Regions from separate parts of the Homo sapiens genome. Here region 1 is linked to region 2. Evidence: promoter capture Hi-C in human tissues and cell types (Jung and others, 2019). All regions are on one chromosome and are shown on one strand. Each heading gives the region's core, a stretch centred on a gene start or on the middle of the fragment in contact. The rest is flanking DNA. Distances are from core to core; before and after follow the strand shown.

What was found. Contacts are between HindIII fragments. The study calls those that stand out against the background at their distance.
Region 1: a contact is called between a fragment that was not itself captured here and the fragment with the promoter of CALML4 in region 2, in 2 of the 25 tissues and cell types used here (IMR-90 fibroblasts and adrenal gland).

What each region holds. Positions count from the first base shown.
Region 1 is chr15:67,991,364-67,997,529 of GRCh38, forward strand. No RefSeq gene overlaps it. Among named protein-coding and RNA genes, the nearest start is that of PIAS1, 60 kb to the right of the region's middle. The HindIII fragment of the contact is 3,828 bases long and covers 2,914-6,166 here.
Region 2 is chr15:68,202,027-68,207,378 of GRCh38, forward strand. It overlaps CALML4 (calmodulin like 4), which reads right to left and starts at 3,306. Exons shown (of 5, transcript NM_033429.3): 1 at 3,219-3,306; 2 at 3,095-3,125. The coding sequence starts at 3,221. It overlaps CLN6 (CLN6 transmembrane ER protein), which reads right to left. Exons shown (of 7, transcript NM_017882.3): 7 at 4,966-5,352. RefSeq lists an enhancer at 4,005-4,299. The HindIII fragment of the contact is 22,474 bases long and covers 1-5,352 here.

The sequences.
Region 1 (6,166 bases), core at 3,578-6,077, 210 kb before region 2:
CTTGGATACTGAGAATCGTATCCAATAGGAAGGGGCCTCCCCTGTCACCAGATATATTTATGTATCCTTCATTATGTGCCTTGGTTAATTGTCCCTTTCCTTTTTTTTTTTTTTTCCTTGAGAAGGGGTCTCATTCTGTCACCCAGGCTGGAGTGCAGTGGTGTGATCTTGGCTTACTGCAACCTCTGCCTCCCGGGTTCAAGCAATTCTTTTGCCTCAGCCTCCCAAGTAGCTGGGACTACAGGCGCGTCCCACCATGCCTGGCTAATTCTTGTATTTTTAGTAGAGACGAGGTTTCACCATGTTTGGCCAAGCTGGTCTCGAACTCCTGACCTTGTGATCCACCCACCTTGGCCTCCCAAAGTGCTGAGATTACCGGCATGAGCCCCTGCAGCCTGGCCTAATTGCCCCTTTTCTACCAGCTCTTCTTACAACAGAGAAATCCTGAGCCTCGCTTGTAATTATAGTGAGGAAATATTTCTATGAGCTTTTAAAAGGGAAGCCTAAACTGGGTCAAAATGTTGAAGGTGATAGGTCAGGGAGCAAGGGTCAATACTAGCTTTACTCTGATGAGTTGATTGCTAGGGGCTTTGAGTGTCTTTTGCCAAATTTGAGGGCCCTCTCCTAGAATTCCACTATCAGCACCTCATCCTATTGTTATTATTGTTACAACTGAGATTGATAGACATCTGTGGAGGATTTTACAGTCTGCAAAGTGCCTTTTACATGAAGTACATCACTTATCTTCACTGCAAATGCTGAGGGCAAGTTAGATTACTTGGCCCTACTTACTGCACTGTTAAAATGCATCTCTTCACTCCTCCAGAAGGGCCACAGGGCACTTGTTTCCAGTCATATTTATGTTTGTTGTGGGTAAAAAGCTAGCTTGGGCTGGGCATGGTGGCTCATGCCTGTAATCCCAGCATTTTGGGAGGCCAAGGCGAGAGGCCAGGAGTTTGAGACCAGCCTGATCCCATCTCTATTTACCAAAAAAAAAAAAAAAAAAAAAGCTAGCTTACAGTACTAGTAGCTCCTGCCTTGTTCATAGGAGGATCTCAGCACCTAGCAAAATGCCCAACACGTAGAATACAGGAAATGTTTATTGAGAGAAAGAATGCATGCATCTAGCCTAGGAGTTTTTTTCCTTTTTATTTTTTATTTCAATAGCACTTGGGGTACAAGAGGTTTTTGGTTACATGGATGAATTGCACAGTGGTGAAATCTGAGATTTTAGTAGCATAGGAATTCAAGTGACTATTGCTCATTTATAGGCCCTCTCCCTGTTCAGTACATTCTCACATCCATGCCTTTGCAGATTCCACGTACTTGAAACTCCCTCTAAAAATGTCCATCAGCTTTGGCGTGGATGCTACTAATTTAGAGACCCTCCCGGGGCTACGGACCCACAGTGATCCTTTCTTTTCTGAAATCCTTCAGCCCTCCTCACCCAAATCATCAGTGCCACTCAGCCTTGACATCAGATTGGAACCAATTAATTACCTGCTAAACTACCTCATGTAAGAAACAGGTCTAAAGATGTAAACAGCCTTGCCCAGTGAGTCAGTGGCAGGCAGGGTCAGACCCAGAATCCAGGTCTTTTATTAGCTGCCCAGTGTACTTCCCATTACATCAAGAACAGGAAATAGGTTTCACCATGACTATCACCTTTGATCAAGCTGTGGTGGCCGCCCAGAGTGATAGACTGAGAATGCCTGTGAGAGAGCAGCCCAGGATGGTGGGAAAGAGTGCTGCAATCGCTTGATCATGTCTGCCAGGCTGTGGAAATGAAGAGTTTGGTGTGGAGAGTGGCTCACATTGCAAAAGTTGGGACCCCCATTTAATCTGACCTGAATCCTCCACTGTAAGGATGTTGTTGGCTGTCCCTTCACTCTCCCAACTCCAAGAGAATTGATTCAGGGCAACTCCCTTTTGCTCACATTAAAAAGAAATAATAAGCTTTTTTTTCTTCTCAGACAGAGTCTCGCTCTGTCACCCAGGCTGGAGTGCAGTGGTGTGATCTTGGCTCAGTGCAACCTCTGCCCCCTGGGTTCAAGCAATTCTCCTGCCTCAGCCTCCCAAGTAACTGGGATTACAGGCACATGCCACCATGCCTGACTAATTTTTGTATTTTTAGTAGAGATGGGGTTTCACCATGTTGGCCAGGCTGGTCTCGAACTCCTGACCTCAAGTGATCTGCTTGCCTCAGCCTCCTAAAATGGTGGGATTACAAGCGTAAGCCACCACACCTGGCCAAGAAAGCATAATCTGAAGGTCAGTCCTGGGGTTAGGTCAGAACTTCCCTCCTACCCTGCTTGGAGTTAAGGATATAGTGCTTGTTACTTGTCCCCCAACTCCAGAGTCAGCTTCAAAGATTTGACTGTGTATTTGTACAATTAGAAGAGTAATCTCTAGGAAACAAGCAGCTCAGTAATGAAATGTTACAATCCCAGCAGGGCCAAGCAAGCCTATTGTGGTGCTTTCTAGGCAGAAGGAGGCTTAAGGAAAGGATCAAGCACATTGCTGCTAAGAATGTGCAATACCAACTCCACTGAGAGAGAAGCACGGTTGCAAACTAGGGGACAATTAGATGTTTTCCTTCTTTGTGGATTTGGAAGAGTGGTTGCAAACACAGATGCCTCTAAGGGCAACACAGATAATATAAATAAGTGAATCAGCCTGGGTGTAGGGCAGCAGGGAGCAGTGGGGACTGTGGCTGAGAGTGCCTGTCCTACCTAAAGGATTTCCAATTCTCAGGTATTTTTAAAAACGTAGTACTGGCCAGCCGGACGCGGTGGCTCACACCTGTAATCCCAGCACTTTGGGAGGCCGAGATAGGCGGATCATGAGGTCAGGAGATCGAGACCATCCCGGCTAACACGGTGAAACCCCGTCTCTACTAAAAATACAAAAAAATTAGCCGGGCCGTGGTGGCGGGCACCTGTAGTCCCAGCTACTCAGGAGGCTGAGGCAGGAGAATGGCATGAACCCAGGAGGTGGAGCTTGCAGTGAGCCGAGATCACGCCACTGCACTCCGGCCTGGGCGACAGAGCAAGACTCAGTCTCAAAAAAAACAAAACCAAAACCAAAAACAAAAAAAAACTCATAATACTGGCCAAATAGAAGATGTTTGCAGGCTTCGTTTGGTTTTAGGACTTTAGACTGAAAACATTACAGATATGTGTGTATCCAATCTATCTAATTTATCCATTACTTAATGGCAAAAACTGAAATTACTTTTGCACCAACCTAATAAAAGTTATGCACTGGTGGCCGGGCGTGGTGGCTCACACCTGTAATCCCAGCACTTTGGGAGGCCGAGGCAAGCAGATCACTTGAGGTCAGGAGTTCAAGACTAGTCTGGCCAACATGATGAAACCCTGTCTCTACTAAAAATACAAAAATTAGCCAGGTGTGCTGGCACACACCTGTAATCGCAGCTACTTGGGAGGCTGAGGCAGGAGAATCACTTGAACTCGGGAGGCAGCGCTTGCAGTGAGCTGTGATTGTGTCACTACACTCCAGACTGGGTGACAGAGCAAGACTCCATCTCAAAGTAAAATAAAATAAAATAAAAGTTATGCCCTGGTTAATCAGAAAAATAAAGAAGCATACCTGATCCTCCGGATGGTAGTTCTGTTTTATGGAACAGTGTGCCTCTGCTGACTGTGATCAGTCCTGCTGACCCTGGATATCATCCCAGACTCAATAACTCAGACTTAAAGAATGGTATTGAGGAGAAGGAGATGCTTTGGGGTAAGATCAAGCCCTAGACTTTGAAGGTGAGATTTCCTGAAAAGTGGGAGAAGATTTGCAAGCCAGAGTAAAAAGATGTGCAAGTCAGATCTGTAAGGCAGAAGCACAAAGGAGGAAGCTTTCTCAGAGAAGCCTGAGGCTGGGGCACAGGATTAGAGACTGGTAGGGCCCCAGGTAGGACTGAGTTGTGCAACATGGCAGCCCTGGGGAGGGTTTAACTTATTGATGTGCTCCGTCAAACTATGAAAAATTATATAGCACGCAAGCTTAAAATGTTTCCCACTACTACACAGAGATTCCCCTAGATATCTTATCCTCCTAGTTTCGCCTCATATGACATTGCTGTGGAGATAAAGAGGTCAGGCAGAGGAGGAGAGTGGCCTCTCCCTCCTGTGAGAAAAGGCACTTGCTCCCAACAGGATCAGGAGTGAGGACTCAGATGGTCCTCGCAAGCCATCAGGGGGAGCATGTGGTGTTGAAGAGACCCTGCCGTTCAAACCTCCTTGCTGGTAGTGACACTGAGGGACTGGAACCCCTTAAGGGGAAGCAGCTGAGGTTTGGGCCAGCTCAGGTGAAGCAGGCTGGCTGCCCTCTGCCCTAATCCTCTGAAGGAGCTGGAGGTAAGAAATGCTCTGACTCTCTCACAGGAGGGCTGGAAGACCCAGTTCAGTGGGAACTGTAAAATGCTTGGGAAAACAGAGACCCCTATTAATGCAAAATATTATTATGAACCCTCCCTCCCCACATACTTTTCAACCTCATGAGGTGTTGTCTTTAAGGCCCAGTCTGGTTTAAATTATAAGATGAATAAACTCACCTGACCTGACAAGCAAATGTTCTGCTGGACCCACAGAGCCTTGGAAAGAGCAGCCTTTGCTTCTCCGCCCGTTTAGGAGGAGCAACCCTGTGGGCCTGTGGGAAATGCATGGACTGGGTGTCTGGCAGGTCTGGGTTTGAAGCTCAGCTTCATGAGCAGTGGGCCTTGGCCTTGCTGCGCCTCATTTTCCCCCCCTCACAGGGCTGTCTTGAGGCTGGGTGGAGTAGTCCTCTGGAAGCCCTGAAGGTTTGACCGTTCTAAAGCAGTGTTTCAGGTGAATTTATACATTGATGGGAAGGAAAGAAAGTCTGTTGGATTTTTAGACGATGCTTATGCTTTGGATACAATCAAGCTCTTTCCCCAAGGGCCAGACCAGGGACAAATGAGCTGTATCCCTAGTAAGCTAGCTTTCTTTTAATATGAGGATGTATTATTTGCCACAAAGGACAAATGTGAAACTACCTCTTGATCAGTCACAGACTGTGGGCCTCTTGGGAGTCTGGGAGGTCACAGGTCAAGGCCTAGAGAAATGGCTGTGTCCTAGGATTAGGGACAGTGGAACTGCTTTCTCTCCTGAGGCCTCTTTGGTGTGGTCATGGGGTGCTGCTGATGTCTGCAGCCCTCTGGGCACTCTCTCAAAGCTGCCCTGTAGCTGGAACATCTATCTGCATCCCTACTCAGCGCAGAGGCAGTGAAATGGCAGCAAACAACTCCCTTCTATTTCCTGGTGGCTTGTTCTCTGGGACACGGAGAAGAGCATGGTGACTGCCAGGTTTCAGGCCTATCTAGCAGGGCAATGAGAGCTCCTGGGCACCTGAGGATTCAGAACCACTTCTTTCTTTCTTTTTAATTTTTTTTTTTTTTTTTTTTTTGAGACAAAGTCTTGCTCTGTCGCCAGGCTAGAGGGCAGTGGTGCGATCTTGGCTCATTGCAACCTCCGCTTCCCAGGTTCAAGCAATTCTCCTGCCTCAGCCTCCTGAGTAGTTGGGATTACAGACACACACAACCATGCCCAGCTAATTTTTGTATTTTTAGTAGAGACGGGGTTTCACCGTGTTGGCCGGGATTGTCTCGATCTCTTGACCTCATGATCCGCCTGCCTTGGCCTCCCAAAGTGCTGGGATTACAGGCATGAGCCACCGTGCCCGGCCCAGAACCACTTCTTAATTGAAGAGAACATCTTCCTTCTCTTTGTCTATGGGATAAAGTCCTATACCTGTAACCAAGGCCATACCCAAGGGTCCCCCAAATAGCTCAACTCAACTGGCTGATGCTCATGGGTAGCCATGACCCCTCCAGCCCATTGCCCAGCCTGTCACACGCTTCCTGCCTTTACACATGCCACTCCCTCACTTCCTATTTCTACCAGATGAACACCTGCCTGTTTATCAGTGTCTCTGAGAAAACATCCCCCTTTCCCCCCAAGAGCAAGGGCAAGGCTCTGCCTTCATTGCATCCTTAGCCCTCCAAGCTAGCTGATCTACTCTCACATCACTCCCCTGACCAGCATGTAGAAGCAATCCACACAGAAGCAGGCCTGGCATGAAGTGTGGTCCTGGGGCCCCTGTTGGGCCATCTTAACTCATTGGTTGCTTG
Region 2 (5,352 bases), core at 2,056-4,555:
AGCTCCAGGCACAAAGAAGGGACACAAACATTTGTTGAATGAAAGGATTAATTGGGTTAAATGAATTGGATTAAAAATCCCCTTTAAGTCTTCTCTTTGAAAATGCAAATCCCCCAGGACAAGAAAGAGACCTGTGCAAGGCCTAGGATAACACCAGCTGTGCTGGATGTTTAACCACCAGCTCTGATCATAAATGTACTTGTGTCCTCTGCACTGTACAAACATAAAGGATGTGTAGCACACAATTTACAAATAATACAGAAATGTACACTATTCTTTATTATAAATTCCATCTAGGGCTGGGTGCAGTGGCTCACGCCTGTAATCCCAGCACTTTGGGAGGGTGAGACAGGAGTATCGCTTGGGCCCAGGAGTTCGAGACCAGCCTGGACAATATAGTAAGACCTCATGTCTACAAAATATTTACAAATGTTTTGTGTGTGGTGGTGCATGCCTGTAGTCCCAGCTACTCAGGAGACAGAGGTGGGAGAATCCCTTGAGTCTGGGTGGTGAAGGTTGAAATGAGCGGAGATCATGCCATTGCACAGAGCAAGACTCTGTCTCAAATAAATAAATTCCATCTAGCCACTTGATTACCACAAATGAGTTTTGCCAACTTTTTTTTTTTTTTTTTTTGAGAGAGTTTTGCTCTTGTTGCCCAGGCTAGAGTGCAATGGCACAATTTCAGCTCACTGCAGCCTCCACCTCCCAGGTTCAAGTGATTCTCCTGCCTCAGCCTCCCAAGAAGCTGGGATTATAGGCATGTGCCACCATGACCGGCTTTTTTTTTTTTTTTTTTTTTTTTGAGACAGAGTCTCGCTCTTGTTGCCCAGGCTGGAGTGTAGTGGCTCAATCTCGGTTCACTGCAACCTCCGCCTCCTGGGTTCAAGTGATTCTCCTGCCTCAGCCTCCTGAGTAGCTGGAATTACAGGTGCCTGCCAGCACACCAGGCTAATTTTTGTACTTTTAGTAGAGATAGGGTTTCACCATGTTGGCCAGGCTGGTCTCAAACTCCTGACCTCAGGTGATCTGCCTCCCTCGGTCTCTCAAAGTGCTGGGATTACAGGCATGAGCCAACTGCACCTGGCCAGTTTTGTATTTTTAGTAGAGATGGGGTTTCACCATGTTGGCCAGGCTGGTTTCAAACCCCTGACATCAGGTGATCCACATGCCTCGGCCTCCCAAAGTGCTGGGATTACAGACGTGAGCCACTGCACTCAGCCCAAGTTTTGCCAACTCTTATATCCATTGCCAACCTATAGTTTCGATTCAACCATGATTTGACAAATGAAGCTGCGCGCCAATGAGTGCGATTCTTTTTCCAATGAATGAATGGTCATTAAACCTGATGTGATCTACTGTTAAACTATTTCTCACCCTTTTACCAAACACATTCATTAAATTGAAACTTCTTTCAAATCTCCATCTCCACTGATCACAATAGGGCTGTCTTTTTAACTTTTTGTACAGATAGATGTAGGGATTGAAACACTGTTTGATCCTACATTATTTAATAATGGCTGGCTTTAACATCCTGCTTGCAAAATTCCTAAAACTATGGCTCTTGCTAGCTGTAGTGAGCCAGCCCCAGCCCACATGTGGGTGACACCTGGCTATGCCTGGCCCAGCGTCCAGCATGTAACTGACATTATTCCCCTCTGTCCGTGGCTCGCAGCAGCCTGGTAAGGTGGCATATCCTACTTCATAGGTGAGAAAACCGAGGCTCAAGGGTGATTAGGCTTCAGGTCTGCTGCCTCCAAAGCCCCTGTTCTTCCCACTTCGCTAGGCCACCCCATCCAGTCTTTCACACACTCATTAAACACTGGTGGCCACTTTCTTGGTGTCAGATACTGGGATACAAAGACAATTTACCTTCTTCCCTTCTGGGAGCTTTGGCTATCCCAGGAGGGAGGGTCAGTGAGCCTCAAAACCAGGCATGGGTGGGAGGATGCTGAGGCTGAAGGCTGGACTCCAGCCCTCAGTCCACCATTCATTATCACCGTTAGACCTGGACAAGAGGGCACTGCCCCGGGCCCTGTGTTTTAAAAGTCCCTGCTCCTGCCCTGGCCCTCCTCTTGGGATAAAGAGTTCCAGGGTTCTACGTGGAGGTGCCCACCTGGAGCTCACAATTCCTGCCCCTCTGGACCAAGCTCAGAATACCCAGAACTCTGGAACTCCTGCCCAGGTAACCCTAACCCCACTTGGCTGGGCTCTCAGGACCCTACCCTGGATCACAAGGGCCCAAGGTGCCTGTAATTTTATCTCCAGTGGTCAGCGAAGGACTCACTGAGAAGGCGATGTTTCAGCAAAGACCTGGAGGAATGGGATGCCTCGGGGGACTCTCAGGCCCATTGACGTCCACTGTTGGGACAGGTTTCAGGGTCACAACCTCAAGCAGCAGCTGGCTGTGCCTCCTGGGCCTCTCCTGCCAGGTGCAGGGGGGCTGCAGCCATGAGGCTCCCCTGGCTCAGGTCTGGGCCCCCAAGTTCTTTGTAACGCAACTCTTTGCTCTTGGCCTTCTGGAAATAGAACCCTGCACGGTGTGAAACTGAAGCCTGGTCGAGGGCTGGCAGAGTAGGGGACCCAGGGAATAAAGTGCTCACGCCCAAACCAGGCTTGATGCCAGGGCAAAGGGGGCTCAGTGGACCCTCCATTTTACAGATAGGGAGACTGAGGCGCAGAGAGTAGACGCATCCTGCCAGAGAGTGCAGACCTGGCCTCTGTTCTGTCTCAATTACAAAGCCCCTCCTCTTTCCCTGCTGCCAGCCATACCTTTAATGGTCTCTCTCTCCATCCCCAGTCCCCTCAGTCCCCAAATCCAACTGGTCAGGTTCTGGAGGGAAACCTAGTAAGTTCTGTCTTAGCGCCCTGGCTTGTAAGTCACACTGACAAGTATAAAGCCACATGTCTATTTTGGAGGCTTACCCCCAACCCCCACCCCGCCAACAGCAGCCTCCCCGCAGCTCTTGGCCCTGGGTGGGCCCAGCTCTCCCACAGCCACCTTCCTTCCCACCAAGAAAACATGAGCAGAGCAAATTGCCTAATGAGACCCATATTTTGCTGAGTTGCTAATCAAAGAACAAACCCAACCTACCATTAATTTGGTCTTGGGAAAGAAACTTGGCCTGCAGCAGAGAAAGGAAAACAGTCAGGGGAGGGCTCCACCTGAGGTTCACGCCCCCAGCCCTGGCCAGGCCGACACAGACCCTCACACTCACCATTCTGGGGCCTCGGCTGCTACCCGTGGGCTTGCTGCTCCCAGAACCGCGTTCAGTTCCCTTTCCTCCAGCCTCAAGTCTAAAGTCTGCCAAGCTGGGTGGAGGCCCGGGTAATAAATGCTCGGCTGCCATGGAGACTGGGCCCGACGCCACCAGGGTCAGATTCCAGCTTCCTGAGCACAGCTCATGACCCGCCACCTGGGCAGGTTGGATTTTTGAGGAAATGGGGCTGCAGAAGGCTCTCCCTGGGCTCAGAGTCTCTGCCTCCAGAAGCCGAAGCAAAGGGACAAATGCCAGTGTTTCTTCCCGGGAGCCCTGGACTCCAGGAAGGGGTCTTCTCTCTCTCTCCTGGGACTCGGCGGGGATGCCATCAGGCCCCTACTAGAGTTGGACACTTTACACCCCGGGTCGTATTGAAGGCTCCTCACACACCATCTTGTAGGAGGAAGGGAACCCTTCCAAGACGGCCTAACTCAGAGATGGGCACCGGGGCTCGCAGGCTTGGGGCTCGGTATTGCAGGGATACAAGCTTCGGTGCTCTCAGGCTGGGATTCAGTCCTCCCCGTCTGCTGACTTGCTGAGTGACTGGCGAATCATTCTACCTCAGTCTGTGCCTCAGTTTCCTCACCAGCTGAATTACAGGGCAGCTGGCAAAATCAAGTGGCCAGCGCACAGCCGGTTCCCATCCTGTGCCAGTTCAGTTCCCACCTTCTGAGGACTTTAAGGGTGGTGGAGGGGCCTGAGCCGGGTCTCCAGCCCCACCACAGGCTCCTCGGGGGCTTGGAGTGAGGCCTCTTAGTGCCGGTTACCCTGGCCAGGAAGGCTCCCCTTTTCTTCCTTCCCTTCCTCTCTCCACCCTCAGCCCCACCCCTTCCGCAGAAGCTGCTGACGCTCCCAAGTCTTCAGGAGTTCGTGCTGCTCCCCTCCCCCACATAGGAGGAAATGGGGGCAGGGTGTGAGGCCTCCCCAGCTTCTTCCCCTTGAGATCCCATTTCCCTGTTTGGGGCGTGAGGCTTTTGTCCACAGCTGAGTCTATGAGGCTCTACAAGTAGGTGTGGCTGCACAGGTGTGCCCTACACAAAGGCCCCCAGCCCAGGTGCGAGTGGTTGCTGGCCAGGGGCTGCACTGCCAATAGGAAGGGGGGCATTGTGCCACTTTGCACACAGGCGCATAGACGGGAGGCGCTGCCTGTGCCCCACTCTCCCCTCCCCGCTCCTTTCCTGACCGCCTCTGTGTGGAAAGTGTGCTTTTCTCCCAAATCACATCCCCAGAATCGCTTTACACCTGTTTCTAGACCCAGAGAATTTTAGCTGGGGACTCCGACTCCTCCCTGTCAGAGTTTGAGGCTCCCCCTCCCAAACCCCATGGCAGGGATAAGAGGAGGGAAGGCTGCCTCTGTGCAGAGGATGGAGAGAAGGACATCAAGGAAAGTCACTTGGGACTCTGGAAGCCTGAAGGCGGCCAGGCCAACATGCTCCCTCTGAATCCCCTTGCCTGTGGGAAGGGGCTCCAGAAGAGATGAGGTGCCTCCTTGGAGTTAGGCCAGTGTGTGCTGGGGTGCCCCGGCCAACTCCCTCCTTATGTGTGTAGGTGTCTCCGGGGGTGACGCACAGATGGAAAACACCAGCGTGGGGCAATGGCTGCGTGAGGGTTCACGATACAGCAACTCACCATGCTGTAGGGCGCACCGTGTGTGCTACACCTCAGCACGAAAGGGAGAAAAGACAAAAAACACCTCTAACACCACTTGGGGCTGTGACTGTATTTACTTCATTCTTGAATCCCGCGTCCCCGTGGCTGGGGGCTGACACATCCCTGGGCACCACTGTGACTTCCTGTGGGTCCCTTCCCTTCTGTCCCTGACTCTGTAGACCCCCCACAGGAAGGGTCCTAGGTAGGGGGAGGTTCCTCCTCCCTTGAAACCCTGGGCCACTCTGTCAAGGCAAAGCCTCTGGGCCCAGCACCTTGTAAAGGCTTTGATGAGAGGAGCTCTGGCTTTTGCTCAGGGCCTTTGGCACCCCACCCTCCAGCCCCCAGGAATGCAGGCGCTCAAAGCCTGTGGCTAGGCTGCCCGAAGCGCGTGCCGCAGTTCTTCTGGAGTGGGAGCAGGGGGACAGAGCTTTGGGTAGAGGAG